5 separate regions of the Homo sapiens genome follow, and all the other regions are linked to region 4. The links are contacts of gene promoters, found by promoter capture Hi-C in blood cells and fetal thymus (Javierre and others, 2016). All regions are on one chromosome and are shown on one strand. The core of a region is centred on a gene start or on the middle of the fragment in contact, and the rest is flanking DNA. Distances in the headings are between cores, read along the strand shown.

Region 1 (2,700 bases), core at 200-2,699, 320 kb after region 4:
GAGAGAGAAGGACTACATGGTATGAGGAGTCAGACAGGTCTCAGTCTTTTAAGCCCAGCTTTGCCACTGCCTAACTGTATGCAAAGTGTCTTAATCTCTTTAAAATGGTGGAGAATGGCACCTTACTTTGCAGGGTTGAGTTGCAACTGGAAAGAGAGTGTAGAGCACACAGTAGGAGCTTAGTAGATGTGAGGTCCTGTGCTGCACGTTCTGTTTAAAGGGCATTTCTCTGAATATGCTGATGCACTTTGCAAGAGCTGCCAAGAGGCTTCCGCAATCGATCATAAACAACCTTCCCTTTCTTTGGCATTTCCTTATTGTATAGTGTAGCATGCCACGTGCATGGTGGGGAACCCAATAAATGTTATCTAAATCACGGGCTGGGAGGCCACAGCATGTCAGAATAAGAATGCAGGACTTTGGAGCTAAGTTAACCTAAATTGCAATCCCAGTTCTGCCAACTAGGTGAACTGTGTGAGCTGGGACAAGCCACTTTACCTCTCTGAGCCTCGGCTTCTCAACTGTAATATGGAGATGATAATGCCTACATTGCAGGGATGTTAGAAGAATTAAATTCATCCATTCATCCCATCCAACACGTACTTACTGAACATTTACTCTGTACTAGCCACTGCTCCAGGTGCTAAACGTATAGCAGTGAATAAAACAGACAAAATCTCCCTGGGGGAGACAGACAAGAAACTGCTAACTACACATACAGCGTGTCGCATAGTGACACGTGCTAAGGAGAAACTTAAAGCTGGGTCAAAGGAGTGAGTGGGGTTGGGGCAACAGCAGGCCCCTCGTTCAAGCAGAGACCCCAAGGAAGCCTGGTGGGAGCCATGGGGAGGAGGGCAGAAGAATGTGCCGGGGAGAGGGATCAGGAAGTGCAGAAGCCTTGAGGAGAAGCATGCTTGGCGTGTAAATGAAGCCACATATGCAGGAAGCCTGGCATGGAATCCAGGTGCTCAGCAAATGCCAGCTCTCTATTTCAAGTCCCGCAGAAAGAACCCCACGCATGTGTCCTTTTCCTGAGAACGAAAGCACAAGGATTCTACAGGGCAAGACTGTGCCAAGTGTTCCTTCAGCCTAAGATTCAGGCAACATTCGAGCTCCACCACCAGTTTTTGAGCCCTTGCCAGGCACCAGTCTCTGGGATGGGCAACCAGGGATACAAGATGATCAAGACAAGGGCTCTGTCCTCAGGGAACCGCAAAGAGTCACAGAGACAGGCAGTGACAATGCAGTCATTGCAACGATGAGCAGGAAAGGACTTCAGGCATCCAGATAGCAGAGCAAAGGATGAGACTGTGGGTGGTCAGGGAAAGCTTCCTGGAGGAGGTAACGACAACTGGATTTTGAAAGGCAGACTAGACAAGAAAGGACAATCCATGCATGGGGACCATCACATGCCAAGCACAGAGGTACAAAAAACAGCACAGGGTGTGCAAGAAACTCATACTGGTAGGTCGGAAAACAATTAACGGCCCTTCATATTCTTGGCATCTGCCACCCGATGTGACTCAGGAATTCCGGTTCTGACCCCTTCCTCAAACTCAGTGCAAGCTTCAATCCCCAGAGAAGAGTCTGAATTCCCCATACTTAGACACTGCAGTGGGTAACCAACCTTAACTGCCGGCTCCCAGACTAGGGTGGCCCAGTCCACAGAGAGAGAGTTGAGAGGGATGGAGAATACATAAATCTCTAGCTATATTTAGCCTGCCTGGCGTGTGTCTGTCCCTTTACGCACCCCAGGGCTGACCCACAGGTGGCAGAATGGCTTTTTACTAGAATAGTATAAACATTTTTAAATTAAGAAACCAAGGAAAGGGGCCTGTGCCGAGGTGCCTCATCCCAGTGTCTATGTGGCGAGAATATCTGCTGCCCTATTTGCCAACATCCCCAGATATCTCCTGACCCGCGGGTGGGTTCTCCCCCAACCTGGCAATAGCCCTGTCCACAGGAGGTAGAGGCCACCCTCCAGTAAGCAGACCTGGGTTCTAATCCCACCTCTGCCACTGACTAGCTGGTGACTCTGCTGATGATTACAGCTCTCTGGGAATTTGAACGTTTGAGTGCAGTTGCTCAGAGGCTTGTAAAGTAGGAGTTGGCTCCTCTTCCATAAGCTGACCCTGGGAATCCTGGGCTCAGCACTGTCCACTTCAACCCGCTCCAGGGGAAATTATTCTTTAAGAGCATGTAATGCCTAGAAGGGAGAGCTATATGGGAGTGTTATAGCAGAGATGGGGTGATATGTCCCTCTTCCAGAACCTCACACTAAATTAACCTCACAGCTGACTTGCTTCCCCATTGAGCCGAGCCTTTGTGCTTTAGACACACACACACTCCTCTCACCTTTTGCCCAAAGGATGCTACAAAGGCCCAGCCTTAAGACAAAATACTTCTAAATACTTGGGCGTGTGAGGGGAGGGAGGGCAGAGAGACACAGGTCCCACTCCAGATTCTCCCACTACTAGCTGTGTGACCTTGGGTGAGTCATTTCACCTCTTCTGACACTCAATTTTTTTATTTGTAAAACTGGGATACACATCTTTATCGCGAAGCTTCTTTGCATACCGAGCTGGGGTATGCAAAGTGCTGGGCACTGAACCTCCACGGGCACGCGCGGGCGCGGGACCGCTGATCTGTTCCCACAATTACCATGTATTTTCCAGTAAGGCCTCCTCCTACCCCGTTAAC
Region 2 (2,700 bases), core at 181-2,680, 330 kb before region 4:
GCTGGGTGTGGTGGCTCACACCTATAGTCCCAGCAGTTTGGGAGGCCGAAGCAGGAGGATCACTTGAGCCCAGGAGTTCAAGACCAGCCTGGGAAATATGGCAAGACCCTGTCTCTACAAATAATTTTAAGATTAGCCAGGAGTGGTGGTGAACATCTGTGGTCCCAGCTAGTTGGGAGACTGAGGCAGGAGGATTGTTTGAGCCTGGGCAGTTGAGGCTACAGTGAGCCTGGGGAAGTTGAAGCTACAGTGATCCAACCACTGCACCCCAGCGTTGGTGACAGAGCAAGACCTGTCAAGGAAGGAAGGGATGAAAGGAAGGAAGGAAGGAAGGAAGGAAGGAAGGAAGGAAGGAAGGAAGGAAGGAAGGAAGGAAGGAAGGGAAGGAGAAAGTAAGATAGGGAGGGTGGGAGGGAGGGAGAGAGGGAAGGAGGAAGGGAGGGAAGGGGGGAGGGAGGAAAATTCATTTAAGACTCTTAAAACAACCCTATGAGATATGTGCTATCAGCCCTGAGACCTGTATTACCAGGTTTTCTGATTTTTCAAGGCATTCTATGAGATCTCCTGATTTTTCAATGTTAAAAACTGGTTTAATTAGTCGAAATTAAATGAATGTCCCCATTTCACAGGTTTGTAAACCAAGGCAGTGAACTAACTTGTCCAAGGTCACACAGCCAGTTGGTAAAATTCAAATCCAGGCCTTCTGGCTCCACAATCCATGCTCCTACCTATCATCTCTACAGCTCTTACTTCGCTTGATGGTGACGCAGATCAGGGGTGGGAAACAAGAGGGCGTGGTGGGGACTGCGGTGCCCTGGACACAGCACACTCAGACTAAAGGAAGCAGCTGCTGTAGCCGGCTGGTTGCCTTAACAGGAATGAGGACTCCAATATTTTTAAGAAAAGCTGGACATCTGGATTTAGCATGAAATCTGATTTTTAAATGTTGGTGGCCGGGTGAGGTGGCTCACACCTGTAATCTTAACACTTTGGGAGGCAGAGGCAGGAGGATTGCTTAAGCCCAGAAGTTCGAGACCAGTCTGGGCAACATAGTGAGACCTCCTATTTTTTTTAATAAAATAAAATAAATGTTGCCAACTCACTCAAAGCTCTTAAAAACACCAAGCAGATCAAACAAAGCACCTTGTGTGGGCCGCCACTTTGCAACTCTGATATGGAAGGATGCTCCTGGATCACTGGCCTGACCTCTGGCCTCACTGGGTTCCCATCAGAGTCAAAGTTCAGCTCCTTACTCTCCAGGCATCTTTCCAAGCAGAGAGAGTGAGACAGAGGATGAGCCAAGGACCTGGGCTCAAAGTTGGGCTCTACAAGAGCTGTGTGACTTTGGACAAGTCACTCACCTGGTCTGGGCCCTCATTCTCTCATTTGTAAAGTAGAGATGACAATAATTTCTGTGTCACAGGATTGCTCGGGGCCTGGATGAAAAGGACGCAGGAGGAACAGTTTGGTGGGCTATAGAGCTCCTTGCAGATGTGTTGGGGCCACCTCGCCCAGGTAGCCTCAGCCTGTGGTCTGCCAGGAGAGGTAGAAAGGAAGTGGCCCCAACCCCACCCCACGCAGCCAGGGTCTACCTCACAGCTACTTCCCCCACCTCCCGCCTTTGCACCCACACAGCCTGGAGCCTGTGCACCCCGCATCCCTGGTGACCTCGCCACCACGCTTCCTCCCAAGAGGGAGACTGCCCGCTTTGACCAGTAGACATCGCAGGCCAGCCACTTACGCCCGTACATGACACAAACTTTTAAAATCAGAGAAATATTAAAAATATTTAAAAATGAACAACCCCTATGTACCCATAAATAATTTGATGCACAATCAACTAAGTAATTATTTCCATGCACAAAGACAGGAATTACTTGCAGTATGTTTTTATGAAACTGGAGTCAGGTGCACATTGCATCTCCTTTTGACTTGCTCATTTCTCCACGCAATTGACATATGCGACTGTGTTCGTTTCAATGGTGGCACAGAGTTTCACTGGTTTTTAAACCAGTCCCCTGTAGGTGGACGTTACTTCCGATTTTTTTTTTTTCTAACACAGGCAGAGCCCCTGAGAGCACCCCTGTGCCTGTAACTTTGGGCACTTTGGGGGATGTTCATTCTTAGAGGTGGAAACACTGAGTCAGAGAAGTGAGCGTTTTGTGTGAACTGATATTATCAAATTGCCCTCAGAGGGGCTAGACCAATTAATGCTTCCTGAGCAAGGTGTGAGGAGACCTCATGACCTCATCCCCTGCGAGCCTCCTAACATCTTCCTTTTGGTCCAGGACCTTAAGAAAACCCATTCCCAGGCCGGGCGCAGTGGCTCACACCTATAATGCCAGAACTTTGGGAGACCTAGGCCAGTGGATCACTTGAGGTCAGGAGTTCGAGACCAGCCTGGCCAACATGGTGAAACCTTGTCTCTACTGAAAATAAAAAATTAGCTGATGTGGTGTGCACGCCTGTAATCCCAGCTACTTAGAGGCTGAGGCAGGAGAATCGCTTGAACCCGGGAGGTGGAGGTCGCAGTGAGCCAAGATCACACCACTGCTCTCCAGCCTGGGCAACAGAGTGAGTGAGACGGTCTCAAAAAAAAAAAAAAAAAAGAAAGAGAGAAAAGAAAACTCGTCCCCTTTGCACCCACTGATGCATCAACTAGATGCTCAAAGTTGCCTTCCAGGTGCCCTCATCCAGAAT
Region 3 (2,700 bases), core at 196-2,695, 460 kb after region 4:
TTGATGTCCGTAGTTCTCAGCATAAGGCCTGGGAAGGACTAGTTCTCACTAAAATGTTAATGACTGGCTATATGGAGAAATGAATGAATGAATGAATTAATTAATTAATCCGTGAGGGAATGGGGAAGATAGCACTATGTCTTCTGCTTGTCTAGTAGGGTTGTTGGCAAGTTTAAATGGTCCTCAGAGGGGATCCTGGGATCACTCTCAGCTGCTGCACCACGCTCCCATCCCACCACCTACCCACGCTTCACTTAACCCGCCAGATCCTTCTAGAGCCTGGCCAGGCATTGTAGTGTAGTGGGAAGACAAGGAGACCTGCAACTGGACAGCCATGGCCTCAGAGCCTGACTCTGCCAATTCCTAGCTGTGTGTTCTTACACACCCTAGCTCAAGTTTCTGGGCCTCAGTTTCCTTCTCTGTGAAATGGACACAATCACTGCTCCTCCCAGAGTTGATATGAGGATTACAGGAGGAGTGTATGTAGGAACACCCAGTACAGCTCAACGAATATTTGTTCCCATCCGAAAAAGCCCCTCCCCTTGCCCATTAGCGACCCTTCTTACCTTTCAAATCTTTGATGAATGAATGGTGAGCACTGCACAGCCCATGACTGTTAGTCCGGGATCCCCAGGTGGATCATTAAAGCCTTGAAAGCAAGGGCCTGTGGGGACTATTTCCTCAGTCACCCAGAGGACCCAGCTCAGCAGAAAGCATGTATTGGGTTCAAGCGGGAAATCAAAGCATCATTATGATCATCTTGCCCTTTCCTCGAGAAACACCCTGGAGGGTCACTGTGGCAAGATGACCAGCTCCCATTTTTAAGCACCTACTATGTGCTTTGCATTTTACATTTATTTTTACATTTAAGCTTAACTATACAACAATTTGAAGGAGGTACTCTCATTATCATCATTTTTAAAACTATTAATATTTATTTTCTACTACATAATTTAATAACGTTTCAAAAATTAAAGGAACACAGTGAGAAGTCTCATCCTGCTCCTATTCTCCTCGTTTAAAGAATCATTTTTATTAGTTTCTAGTGTATTCCCCGAGAGTCTGTTTATGTAAATACCAGAACATATTCTTAAATCCCCCTTTTCTGGCTGGGCGTGGTTGCTGACATCTATAATCCCAGCACTTTGGGAGGCAGAGGCAGGAGGATCGCTTGAGCCCAGGAGTTTGAGGCCAGCCTGGGTGACACAGTGAGACCTTGTTGCTACAAAAAATTTAAAAATCAGCCAGGCATGGTGGTGCACACCTGTAATCCCAACTGTTTAGGGGTCTGAGGTGAGAGGATTGCTTGAGCCCAAGAGGTCGAGGCTACAGTGACCTATGATCATGCCACTGCACTCCAGCCTGGGCAACAGAGCAAGACCCTGCCTCAAAAAAAAAAAGTTCCCCCTTTACTTATACAAAAGGGAAACACTGTCCTACACTTTGCACTTTCCCTCTACATTTTATCTTAAAGGTCTTTCTATATCAATACATAGAGAATCTCTTGACTTTGCCCCACTGTCTGGAGGTAATTTTAGGCTGTAGGAACCAAAGCTCAGAGAGGCAAAGCTACTTGCTCAAGGTCACACAGACAGGAAGTAAAAAGAAGGACTTACTCCCAGGTCCCCAGGTCCTGCCCTTCTCTCTCTCTCTCTCTCTCTCTCTGTCTCTCTCTCTCTCTGTGTCTCTGTAGAAACAGGGTCTCATTCTGTCACCCAGGCTGGAGTGCAGTGGCATGATCATAGCTCACTATAACCTTGAACTCCTGGCTTCAAGTGATCCTCCCGCCTCAGTTTCCCCAGTAGCCAGGACTATAATAGGCATATGCCACCACACCCAGCTACTTTTTTAAAATCTTTTTTTGTGGAGACAAAGTTTTGCTGTCTCCCAGGCTGGTCTTGAACTTCTGGGCTCAAGAGATCCTCCTACGTTGGCCTCCTGAAGTGCTGGAATTATAAGCATGAGCCACGGCGCCCAGCCCTCCCCTCCTCTTTTCTTTTCACACCTAGAGAAGCTTCCCCAAGTCTCTCTGGAAAACACAGTGCACACAAGAGTACATTTTGAAAAGGGGCTGCTTCACTCATCAGCTTCCCTGGCTAAGAAAGCTGGCTCTGGGCACCTGGAAATACCTGAAGAAGCTGAAAAGACCTGGATCCCAGCATCAGCTAGGTGATCTGTAATGCTGGTCCTAGAGAGGCTGCCTGGGTTCCAGTCCAGGCCCTGCCACTGAGTGGCATATGACACTGGCCATGAGACCAAATTTCTCTGAGCCTCAGCTTCACCATCTGTAAAATGGGAATGACTGTTGTATTCGTCAGGGTTTTCCAGAGAAATAGAGCTGATAGGAGGTAATGGATAGAAATGTAGACTTATTTTAAGGAATTGGCTCATGTGGTTGTGGGGGCTGGTAAGTCCAAAATCCGTAGGGTGGCCCAGCAGGCTGGAAACTCAGAGAGGATTTCCTTACTACAGTTGAGGGAAAATTGTTCCTTCTTCGGGAAACCTTGGTGTTTGCTCTTAAGGCCTTCACCTGACTAGGTGAGGCCTACTCACATTATCAAGGGTAATATTTTTTACTTAAAGTCAACTGATTATAGATGCTAATCAGGTCTCACTCTGTCACCCAGCCTGGAGTCCAGTGGCATGATGATAGCTCACTATAGTCTCAAACTCCTGGCTTCACAGCAATATCTAGACTAG
Region 4 (2,700 bases), core at 145-2,644:
ATCTTGTCCTAGAACAATCTCTGGTAAGTGCTCCATAAATATTCCTTTGAGGAATGAATCTAGCCCCTGCTTATTTCACTCATATCCAACTCCCTTCCCTCCTCTCATGCATTCTAAGCTCCAATCACAGAGAACAGAGGGCTTGTACGTTCTCACATGGGCCAGTCTTTTAGAAATTATGAAAGAGTGACTCGCTGCATCTTTACCAGTTCTCCTGCCAAATCCAATGCTATCACATGGCCAGCTCCCACAAATCTCTGTCCATCAATCCCACTACACCCAAATACACTAAAACACTACTCTCACTGCAGCACCTTCCCCTACAGTCTGGTTCAACAAGCCACCCTGGGCAACAACACTTGGCAAACTAGCAGCCAGAAGGTTAAATCAAAAGTATTTTTGGTGGGGCACGGTGGCTCACACTTGTAATCCCAGTGCTTTGGGAGGCTGAGGTGGGAGGATCACTTGAGGCCAGGAGTTCAGAGACCAGCCTGGGCAACATAGCAAGACCCTATCTCTACAAAACAAACAAAAAAGCAGGTTTTTGCTTGGTTGACATACTGTTTTATTAAATTTTACTATTACTATTAAATAATTAAATGCTCTAAAGCAACGCAGGCACTCTCTGGTGGCTCTGAACCCTATCTCTGGCCTAACACATCTGAAGGGTCACACTACTTTCCAGAGTCCTGAGGCATGTGAGTCTGTGACTGCTCCACGCATGACGTTCTTAGGCAACGGTGTCCGAGCGCCACTAGCGCCGGAGGGAGACGTACCTGGACCTCGTCGTCCTTGCGGATGGGCATGGAGCGGACATTGTACTTCTGCCGCAGCTCCTTGGAGAGCGGGGATGACATGATCTTCCTGCGCACGTGTGAGGGGGCATTGAAGTGACGTTTGCGGTTTTTACTGCGGTCCGAGGTAACGAAGGGATTGAACTTCATGGTGACCCTCTACAAAGGGCGGAGAGAGACGGAATGAAGGGGCGCTCAGTGGGTTACAGGGGCCTGTTCTCGACCCAAGACACTCCTCATCCCCCAACAAAGGCTCTACAGGGGAGGTAGCCTCTGAAAAGGCAACTGAGGGAGGACAGAGAGATGCGACTAGTCTGACTATCACATAAAGTGAGGCGTGTGTGGAGGTCGCATGCCCGTCTAAAGGGGTCGTGGGGGAGAGGGTAGCACTGGGACCTTGAGGCTGAGGAAGGAATGCTAGGGTTAGGCAGGAATGGGTGGTCGGGAGGTCACTCAAAGAGAGCTGTGGGGTGACATGTGTTCCCGCGACACATAGGGCAGGGTCTCACGGGGCGGTAGAGTTCACTGTCCGAGAAAACTCCAGCCTCCACTCACCCGGCTACTAGCTGCCTCAGACCCTGAGTGCGCAGGGCCGGAAGTGAGTTTCCGTGCCGCGCAAGCGCAGAAAGACATCGAAGCCCCATTTCCGTAGGAGCGAAGTCGAATGGCGCCCCCAGCGGCTTGGGGTGGGATCTCAGTGCCTCATTCCTGGCGGCCCCGGGAGGGCGATGCCAGTGAGTACAAGGGCCTGCTTGTGTAGGGCCTGCGGTAGAGGCTTACTGGTGTTCTTTTTTTTTTTTTTGAGACGGAGTCTCGCTCTGTCGCCCAGACTGGAGTGCAGTGGCGCGAGCTCGGCTCACTGCAAGCTCCGCCTCCCGGGTTCACGCCATTCTCCTGCCTCAGCCTCCCGAGTAGCTGGGACTACAGGCGCCCCCCACCACGCCCGGCTAATTTTTTGTATTTTTAGTAGAGACGGGGTTTCACCCTGTTAGCCAGGATGGTCTCGATTTCCTGACCTCGTGATCCGCCCGCCTCGGCCTTCCAAAGTGCTGGGATTACAGGCGTGAGCCGCCGCGCCCTCCTACCTCTACTTTTTTCTATCTCTGGGACTAAACGGCGGCCGGCGGCGTGCCTGCGGGTTTGTGGCCGCCGCCCCGCCCCTCTCTCCTAGACCCCGCCCCTCTCATCCAGTCCCCGCCCACTCCGGCCGCTCCGCGCCCACCTGTGGCCCTCTTGGCCCTTCTGCCCGTGCCTGGCCCCGCCGGGTCGCTCCCGAGCTCCGCGTTTCGTTCGCCGACCCCTGGAAGACTGCCTGGAGGCCCGGGCGCCACCCAACCACTGGCTAGGCCGACACTTTGCGCGGACCCTGGGTGTAAAAGGTCCCCGGGTCTCTGGTCCCGACGGAGCTGTGAGGGAGATCAACCACGCCCCCTCCGTGGGCACCGTGGCGGCAGGGAAGGAAAAGGGCTCTGGGTCTCGACTCTCTTCGGGTTAAGAACCGACGGGGTTTATTCTATGCAAGGTGTTATTAACTCCAACTCTCCCTTTCGTTCATTCATTCCATATATGTTGAACGACAACTTAGTGCCAAATGCCGGCATGCTGAAACTCAGAGAGGGAAGATGTCTTGCAAGTACAGCAGCCACACCCAGGCAGGTCCCGTGCTCTCTCTTAGTTTATCAGTGTTCCCTGACATGTAGTGGTGACATTGTTAAACACCTGCGTTTACTAATACTAGATTTTTTTTTTTTTTTTTTTTGAGATAGAGTTTCGCTCTTGTTCCCTGGGCTGCAGTGCAGTGGCACCATCTCGGCTCACCGCAACCTCCGCCTCCCAAGTTCAAGCGATTCTCCTGCCTCAGCCTCCCCAGTATCTGGGATTACAGGTATGCGCCACCACGCCCGGC
Region 5 (2,700 bases), core at 170-2,669, 290 kb before region 4:
TCATTAAGAGAGTAAAAATGCAAACCACAGACAGGGTGACATTATTCACAATAAGCATATAACCCACAGGGGACTCCTATCTGAATATGCAAAGAACTCTCACTAATCAATAAGAAAAAGGCAAAAGATTTAAACAGGCACTTCACAAAAAAAGTATATTCAAAAAATCAATAAACATTTGAAAAGATCCTCAATTCACTAGTTATTAGGGAAAGGTGAAATAAAACCACAATGAGACACCCCCACGCCCCCACCAGAACGGCTTAAAATCTAAAACATGTAATACCGAATGTTTGCAAGGATGCGGAGAAACTGCCATTTTTGTACACTGCCAGTATGAGGGTAAATCTGTACAACCAGGTTGGAAAACGCTGAGTAGAATGTACTCTAGCTGGATTTGTGAATATCATATGATCCAGCAATTCTACTCCTAGAAATTTACCCAACAGAAATGTGTAAACATGTTCACCAAAAGACACACGCAAGACAATTCATAGAGGCACTCACTATTCCTAACAGTCAAAAACTGGAAACTACCCAAATGTCCATCAGCAGAGAATGGCGATAAACAGTAGCATCTTCACATAATGAAATGTTTCGACAGCAATGAAAAGTAGCTAGCTACAACTACAAACAATGTGATTGAACCTCACAAACATATACTAAGTAAAATTATCAGACACAAAGAGTGTATATACTGTATTTAGATACATGTGAAGTCTGAAAACAGGCAAAACTATTCTGTTGTTAGAAGTCAGAATAGTTACTGCCCTGCCGGGAAACAGAACTCAAGAGGGCTTAGTAGCTACTGGTAATGTTCTGCTTCCTGAACTGCATGCTAGTGAGGCAGCTGTTATTTTGTGCAGTCCTGTGTTACACTGGAGTTAAAAGTTCCCCCAAAATCAGAAAGTGTTCAGCAAGTGGAAGCAAGTACACTGCTGGACTTGGCTGGGAACTTAGGGGATCCCATAATTTGTCACAGGCACAAGCAAAGCCAGCTTTCTTGCCCTAAGTAGCATCTCCCAGAGTCAGGATCCAGGAATGGTTTGGCAGGCAGGATGCAAGGCAGGATTCGGGAGTGGCTGAGAGTTTTCCCAGTGCCACCTGGTCCCACCTCCCCTCTCCCACTTCTAATGAACGGGCAGTACAGCTTCTGTTAGGAAAAGAGCCTGGGTCCCTAGGCGATGACTGTCACATCTAGGGAGAGGGCGATGCACTGGGGTCCTCACCTACACCCCCCTTGGCTGTCTCACCACTCTGAATTATAAATGCCCGGACTTCCTCATCTCCCACCCACACATCTTGTTAGAAGAAAAGAAACGAATCTCCCAGGGCTCCTTCTAACAAAAGTGTTCATTCAGAGTAGCCCTGCTTGAGGGCCCCTGGCCTGGAGGAGTGGGAGAGGCAGCCCTCCCCCTCCAGGAGAGTCATCTCCAGGGCTACCCAGGACTGAGTAACTAGGTCACCAGAGTAACCAAAGAGGCCAGGAGACAAGGGCATTCAAGCATTGGGCCAGGAATGGGAGGGTGATGTCCAGTTCATGTTCTTCTGGTTCCAGCATAGCACACGGTGCAAATGAACCATCATGCAAGAAAACACAGCTAGTCTCCCTTCCTCCACCAGCAACCTTTGGTTACTGATAATAATCAAATTCACTATTTTTTTTTTTTTTTAACTAAGGCTGAGATAATGTCAAAGGACCACAGGGAATAGGAAGGCCTAAACCAAGGCCTTAAAGAATGAGAAGAAGATTCATTCAAAAAAGCCTCCTAAGGGAGGAAGATGTTTTTCCCTCCTTTACTTTTCTACAGTAATTTTTATTTTGGATAAATAAACCCTGATAAATGAGAACCCACGCTTTCCCAAGGCCAGGCTGTGTTTTGGTGGGTGGTCCTCCGTCAGCAGTTGGAGTAATCCAGAGTGATCCCGGGCAAGTCGGAAGGGAGCAAGTCTGTGTTGAAGCCAAGAGGTATCTTTCCCTACAGCTTCTCAAGAGAGGGGATCCCCGTGGGTAATTGTGAGGCTGGAAACACCGAGAGGCTGACTCCCATGTTTATAGAGGTCATTGATGGGTTTGTGCATGGAAGGCAGGAGGAGACTGAGAGTGCTTTGTTATTGTTATTTGGTTTATTTTTATTTTTAAAAAACTGGATACAGCCGACTTTGAATACAGAAAATGAAAAATGAGGAGATTTGCATAACAGCGCTTGGACGTCTGAAGGGGCCCAGGGCCTAGCGGCTGGTGGGGCACCTAGAAACACTTCTGCCTGCAGATCGCGGAGGGTTAGCCACAGGAAGGGGTCGCCTAGGCTGGCCACAGGGCCTTTGCTGTGACTGAAGGACCAGCCTTGGCGGCACCTTCTTTCCCCTCTGCCCTGCACTCCGGCCCCGCCGGAGTCAGAGCTGACTTGCTGCAGGTTGGGGAGAGGACAGAGGCTAGGACGGTGGCGAAACCTCACCTCGTCGCAGTCCGGAAGGTAAACTTGGACCCGGCAGGCACTTCCTAAAGTCCAAGCTGCCCTCTCTGAAGAATAAACCTGATTTTCCTCCGGACGCGGACAAAGGAGGATTCGCTCACAACTAGCCTGTAACAAAGATTCCCTATTTTCGTGGTTAGGAAAAAAAAAAAAAAGGAAGCCCTCCGGGAGAGACATGCGCCCTAATATTTCTCCCAGATGGGCCGGTTTCAGCGCGTTTGAG

Evidence for each region. The method cuts DNA at HindIII sites, captures the fragments that hold promoters and counts their contacts. A CHiCAGO score of 5 or more calls a contact.
Region 1: a fragment that was not itself captured here is called in contact with the fragment with the promoter of RPL26L1 in region 4 in 1 of 17 cell types (fetal thymus); the score reaches 5.7 in fetal thymus.
Region 2: a contact is called between a fragment that was not itself captured here and the fragment with the promoter of RPL26L1 in region 4, in 1 of 17 cell types (endothelial precursors). The highest score is 5.1, in endothelial precursors.
Region 3: a contact is called between a fragment that was not itself captured here and the fragment with the promoter of RPL26L1 in region 4, in 1 of 17 cell types (M2 macrophages). The highest score is 5.0, in M2 macrophages.
Region 5: a contact is called between a fragment that was not itself captured here and the fragment with the promoter of RPL26L1 in region 4, in 1 of 17 cell types (endothelial precursors). The highest score is 6.2, in endothelial precursors.

Annotation. Positions count from the first base shown.
Region 1 is chr5:172,642,088-172,644,787 of GRCh38, reverse strand. The region is part of intron 1 of NEURL1B (neuralized E3 ubiquitin protein ligase 1B); the gene reads right to left. Among named protein-coding and RNA genes, the nearest start is that of NEURL1B, 2.2 kb to the right of the region's middle. The HindIII fragment of the contact is 238 bases long and covers 1,331-1,568 here.
Region 2 is chr5:173,287,466-173,290,165 of GRCh38, reverse strand. The region is part of intron 3 of LOC105377731 (a long non-coding RNA gene); the gene reads right to left. Among named protein-coding and RNA genes, the nearest start is that of MIR12118, 15 kb to the left of the region's middle. The HindIII fragment of the contact is 5,843 bases long and covers 1-2,700 here.
Region 3 is chr5:172,499,050-172,501,749 of GRCh38, reverse strand. The region is part of intron 1 of LOC105377727 (a long non-coding RNA gene); the gene reads right to left. It also overlaps LOC107984004. Among named protein-coding and RNA genes, the nearest start is that of SH3PXD2B, 46 kb to the right of the region's middle. The HindIII fragment of the contact is 1,143 bases long and covers 874-2,016 here.
Region 4 is chr5:172,958,118-172,960,817 of GRCh38, reverse strand. It overlaps RPL26L1 (ribosomal protein L26 like 1), which reads right to left and starts at 1,394. Exons shown (of 4, transcript NM_016093.4): 1 at 1,350-1,394; 2 at 777-953. The coding sequence starts at 944. RPL26L1-AS1 (RPL26L1 antisense RNA 1) reads left to right here and starts at 1,450. Exons shown (of 4, transcript NR_026682.1): 1 at 1,450-1,528; 2 at 2,561-2,679. The HindIII fragment of the contact is 11,810 bases long and covers 1-2,700 here.
Region 5 is chr5:173,245,950-173,248,649 of GRCh38, reverse strand. No RefSeq gene overlaps it. Among named protein-coding and RNA genes, the nearest start is that of NKX2-5, 12 kb to the right of the region's middle. The HindIII fragment of the contact is 3,226 bases long and covers 1-2,700 here.